Linked DNA regions of Homo sapiens: region 2 is linked to region 1. Evidence: promoter capture Hi-C in human tissues and cell types (Jung and others, 2019). All regions are on one chromosome and are shown on one strand. Each heading gives the region's core, a stretch centred on a gene start or on the middle of the fragment in contact. The rest is flanking DNA. Distances are from core to core; before and after follow the strand shown.

What was found. Contacts are between HindIII fragments. The study calls those that stand out against the background at their distance.
Region 2: a fragment that was not itself captured here is called in contact with the fragment with the promoter of MYO15A in region 1 in 3 of the 25 tissues and cell types used here (dorsolateral prefrontal cortex, mesenchymal stem cells and psoas muscle).

What each region holds. Positions count from the first base shown.
Region 1 is chr17:18,107,318-18,110,017 of GRCh38, forward strand. MYO15A (myosin XVA) reads left to right here and starts at 1,439. Exons shown (of 66, transcript NM_016239.4): 1 at 1,439-1,507. It overlaps DRG2 (developmentally regulated GTP binding protein 2), which reads left to right. Exons shown (of 13, transcript NM_001388.5): 13 at 1-652. It overlaps LOC105371566 (a long non-coding RNA gene), which reads right to left. Exons shown (of 3, transcript NR_164159.1): 3 at 374-1,318. RefSeq lists an enhancer at 1-382. The HindIII fragment of the contact is 16,274 bases long and covers 1-2,700 here.
Region 2 is chr17:18,177,766-18,180,525 of GRCh38, forward strand. It overlaps MYO15A (myosin XVA), which reads left to right. Exons shown (of 66, transcript NM_016239.4): 66 at 1,004-2,035. The coding sequence ends at 1,105. Among named protein-coding and RNA genes, the nearest start is that of ALKBH5, 4.7 kb to the right of the region's middle. The HindIII fragment of the contact is 6,024 bases long and covers 1-2,760 here.

The DNA.
Region 1 (2,700 bases), core at 189-2,688:
ACAGAAAAATACAAATACACGTACCCCAGGAAGGGGTCCCTCAAGTCTCTGCTATTTACAGAAGTTTCTTCAGTAGGCAGACGAAGAGTGTGTTGGGGCAAAGGGGCTCGGTTGGAGGCATTTCCCATAAGACTGAGCCCTCTCATGGGGGTTTTGAGTTTGTAGTGCTGAGCCTGCATCTGTGCCTCCCAGCCCCCTGCACTGAGGGAGCAAGTTGCCCACATGCCCGCCAGCCAGGGCCTAAAGCAGATGGCATGCTCAGTGCCAGGCTGGTAGCTGGGCCTGTTTGGGTCCCTGGAGGCTGTGGCTGCTGTCATGGCACCTCACTCCCTCAGCTCTTGCCAGCTTCTCTGACACTTGGGTTGGGGGCCCTTCCAGGAGGAAACCCCCTTGGGTGCCCCACACAGGGCTCTCCATGATGGGAACCAGTGGTTAGTGGCTTCAAAGGCCCAGCTGACACCCTCCACAGCCTAAGGGGTGTCCTAAAGTGCCTCCCCCTGTATTCCCCCTCCCAGGGCAGCCCCTGCCCAGCACAAAACCCCAGGACCCTGGCTCTGCACGCCTGGGGCAGGGACTTTTGAGTTTAGGATCTGTATTTTCTAAGTCCCCAGTTCTCCTGGCTCTCCTTTCTGAAATAAAGGATTGAAAACGGTTCCTGTTCAGACTGAGAACACTTTGTAAACTTGCTGAACAGTAGCCAGGTTGAGTCAGGTGGGCACAGGTCAGACATTGGGCCTGGGGGTCGGAGAGGGTGCAGCCTGGGCCCCAAGGCAGACCCAGGCCTTGTGTGGCAAGGAGACTGCAGGGTTCCTCACCCAGGCACAGGCAGGCTCTGCCCAGGGGGTTGGTGTTCGGGGGTGTCAGGCCCAGACTGGCCCCTCCGGAGGGGCCTGGCTGCCAAGGTGGGCAGCATCCCAGGAGGCCCTTGTGACCATCTGGGCTGGCAGGGAGGCTCTGTGAGAACAAGGTGGCGGGTCATTTCCTGTTGCCTCAGAAGTCAGGAGTAGAGGGGCTGGCAGGGGCTCGATGAGTGCCTACCGTGTGCCAGGGACTGTGCCAGGCCCCCCACAGTGTTCTGCTGTCCCCCAGAAGCTGGTGTAGGCTGCACAGTTTGTGAGTGCAGACCCCGGATTTAAGACCTCTGAGCAGCGGGGAAGGCTTCCTGGAGGAGGTATGCCTTTTGAGATGGATGCAGCAGGTTCTGTGAGGCTGCCAGGAGGGGTAGAGTTCCCGGGGGCCTCGGGCCCCGCTGGAGTGTGGAGCAGGCCCATGCTCAGCTCTCCAGGCTGTTCGTGGCTCCCCTGTCAGCTGCTCACTCCTTTCCAGAGACAAAACAGGAATAATAGACATCATTAAATATACATAGGGCCCCAGGCGGTCGGCGTGGTGGGCTGGGCCTCCCTTCCCCATAACACTGAGCTGCTCTGCTGGGCCAACCGTGCTCCTGGGCCAGCCAGAGGACCCCCATGAGGCGGCATGCAGGCGGGGAGCAGGCCACAGAACGCAGGTAAGGAGACCTTAGCCTAGAGTCCTTGGGGTCTGTCACTGGCCACCCTCGCATCCCAGGCTGCAGGGGTGATAAGGGAAGGGGCAGCAGCAGAGCTGGGGCCTCGCCCCTAACTCATCTTGAGGCCCTTCTCTGCCTCACTTTGTTCATCTGTGAGGGGTGTGATGCCCATGCAGTCCCCTCCTGGCGATGGTGGGATACCAAGACAGGCAGGGCCTCTGTGGCTTACCTCGGCCCCTCTCCTGACTGTCCTGATGCCTGGCCATGAGGCCCTAAGTGAGGGTTTCTGCCTGGCTGGTGGCCATTCCCACTTCCACTTTACAGGTAGGGGCTCTGGGCCCAGGGTGAGGTAGGGAAGGCCTTGAGTTCACAGGGTGTCAGGGTGAGTCCAGACCTTGGATTAGATCCAGACCTGTTTTGTCCCCAAGGCTGGCTGGCAAAGGGTGGGAAATGAGGCCAGAGGCTGGGGGTCCTCAGGCAGTGAGGGCTCAGGTGAGAGGCTCCAGCCACTGGGCCACAAGTTCCTCACCGTGGATGGGCTTGTTCCTGGGCTAGATCTGTGTGCGCGTGGATCAGGGCAGGCACTGCGGCTCTGTTATGTCCTGGGCTTTCTGGATCTGTGGTCAGGATGGTTGCGCAGTCTACATTTGCTTGTGAGAGAGCGAGCAAGGGATCCTGCAGCTGCGTATGCCCAGGTCAGTGTGAAGTGGCAGCTTGCGGTGCCTTTAGGGCTGGGGAAGCTCCCTAAGACCCCCCAAAGGTCTCTGACCCTCCCATCCCCGCACCTGGGTAAGCTCCAGGCTTGGGCCTCACCCTGTCAGCCACCTTGTTCTCATCACCCTCCCTGATGATCACAGGCAGGGGTCTGCACCCTCACTCAGGCCCATGCCCAGGCAGCAGAGTTGCATTCATCTCCCAGCTGGCATCCCTGCAGCCTCCCGGGGGTAGTATGGCCTGCAGCTTTAGAAGACTCAGGTACATAGGAGCCAAAGACATGAATATTCATCTATCTGTCCCACACGTGTGCGTTCACTCATTCTCCGTCTTTCTTCCTCTCCAGCTTAGATTCCACAGTTTCTCATTTCGGAACCCTCCTTTGGCAAGAAAGCCGAGTCGAGACCCTCTCCTTCCCACTCTGTCCCTCTCCTAGACAGCTCACCTGACCTCCAGCTTCCATCTCGCCAGACCTGGGT
Region 2 (2,760 bases), core at 175-2,674, 70 kb after region 1:
GGTAGGACACATCAGGCCTTTAGGACAAGGCCTGGCACACAGTTAACACTCAGAGTGCGCCTCTAACATGATTTTATCCTTTCTCAGAGCAGCTTCCCTGGGGGGATTCCAACAATGGCTTTCGTCTGAGAACCACATTCACAGATTGATTTCCGCAATTCCCTGATGCCTTCCCCTACCCTGCTCCAATTGGGAGCACTAAGCCTGGGTCACTGCCCATTGTGCACTGTGGGAGCCAGGCGGTAACCATGGCAACAGACAGTTAGAAACTGTTACCATTTATTGATTGGATTCATATTTTTTAAATCTAAAGAATTTACACGTGGCCGGGCGCGGTGGCTCATGCCTGTAATCCCAGCACTTTGGGAGGCCGAGGTGGGCAGATCATGAGGTCAAGAGATGGAGACCATCCTAGCCAACATGGTGAAACCCCGTCTCTACTAAAAATACAAAAATTAGCTGGGCGTGGTGGTGCATGCCTGTAGTCTCAGCTACTCGGGAGGCTGAGGCAGGAGAATCGCTTAAACCTGGGAGGCGGAGGTTGCAGTGAGCCGAGATCGCGCCATTGCACTCCAGCCTGGCGACAGAGCGAAACTCCATCTAGGAAAAAAAAAAAAAGAATTTACATGCAATAAAGCCTCACTGAATCCTCACCACAGCCCTGTCTGTGAGGCAGGCCCCTGGTCAATTGAGACCTTACAGATGAGGCCACTGAGGCTCAGAGAGGTGAAGCGATAGACCCTGGGTCACACAGCTCACACGGAGCAAAGCCGGAAGAGGCACTTGGTCTCCTGCTTGCTTACCCCTTGCAGCCCACACCCCACCATTCGGCCTTCCAGCTCTTCATGCTCCTCTCAGGCCCTGGGGGAGGTGGGGACAAGGGTCCCTGCATGAATGATGGTCTCCACCTATCTCCCAACCACCTCTCCATTCTGTACTTCCCACCCCAAGGTAAGAGCTGGGGAAGTGTTGGATGGGCGTGGACTGTCACTGTCACCTGCAGGGACTGGAACTGTGTCGTGTGGTGGCCGTGCACGTGGAGAACCTGCTCAGTGCCCATGAGAAGCGGCTCACATTGCCCCCCAGCGAGATCACCCTGCTCTGACCCAGCCCCCAGCCCTCCAGTACCTTCTGCCAGAAGACTCACTGTGTGGCCTCAGAGAAATCACTGAACCTCTCAGGATCAATGACCCCTGTAAGGGGCCAGAGCCTTGGAGGACACTAAGAGGAGGCAGGAGGAGCAACTCAAATCCCCAAGAACACAAGAAGACCCATCCTGAACTGGGATGGAATGGCAGCATGCAAACTTGGATCAGATAGCAGGAGGAACTTTCAAAAGTCTGGCCCACTGTGCAGTGGAGCAGAAGGCAGGACCATGAGGCCTCCTGCCATGTACCCATTGCAGACCCTGCCCCTAACTCCTGCCTATGACACAGAAGCCCCACACCAGTTGCCCAGATGAACTGGCCTCTGCCTTTGGTTTACTCAGGGTCTGATGTTGGAATCTGCTCCAACTCCACACCCTAGCCCTTACATGTCCTCCTAAGGGGCCCCTCCTTGTGCTGCCAGTCAGCCTGGATTTCTGGTCTTTGGTTATTTCTGTGCAAACAAAAGGTGTGCCTGGCAGCCATTTCTCCATGGAGTTGCTAAGTGGCCGGAAAACAAGCCTGAGGGAGGAGGCAGGAGTTGGAGTTACCTTAGGCCCCTGATTCACTGCCTATGAACAGACCATCCCCCACTCCTTGGGTATCCCCAACCCCAGACCCCCATCACTTGATGGGCCACACAAGTTTGAGAGTGGTACAAGGGAGAAGTTTGGGAAAAGCCTTCTTGGAAAATGGGACATTAGCATTGAGTTTTGAAAGATGAGTAGGAGTTTGCTAAGAATAGATGGAAGACAGCAGGATAAACATTCCAGAGAAAATCATGTTTATTCCCTGCTGTATCTTCCAGAACCTAGGAGGATGCCTAACAGAGAGTAAGCACTTAAAAAATATTTGTCATATGAATGAAAAAATAAACGAGTGAATGTTGATAGAAAGTGCTGGTGCTTTGGGGAGCTTGTGCGGGGCAGAGAACACTTGGGGAGACTAGATAGGTAGATGGGGGCATAGCTGCAAGATCCATGGCAGCAGAGAAAGGATTTATCTACTTATTCAGCCATTCAATAGCTATTAAATACCTACTGTGAATGAGGCAAATACCAGGCACTGGCAGTTAATCACAGTCAAATCACCGCAAACTAGGATAAGACCTGTGAGTGGGAGTTAGCTAGGGAAAGAGGAAAGAGAACAACATACGCAGGGGCCCTGAGGTGCGCATTACTTGTAGCAGGATCTGAGACTGAAGAGGCCGGCAAAGATGGTTTCGATAGGGCTTCTGGGCTACATTAAGAATTTAGGATTTCTGGGCCAGGCGCAGTGGCTCATGACTGTAATCCCGGCACTTTGGGAGGCTGAGGCAGGCGGATTGCCTGAGCTCAGCAGTTCGAGACTAGCCTGGGCAACACGGTGAAACCCCGTTTCTACTAAAATAAGAATAATATACAGGGGCAGCCTGCCCCTGTAATCCCAGCTACTCAGGAAGCTGAGGCAGGAGAATGGCTTGAACCTGGGAGGCAGAGGTTGCAGTGAGCCAAGATCATGCCACTGCACTCCAGCCTGGGTGACAGAGTGAGACTCCATCTCCAAAAAAAAAAAAAAAAAAAAAAAAGAATTTAGGATTTCTGGGCCGGGCATGGTGACTAACACTTGTAATCTC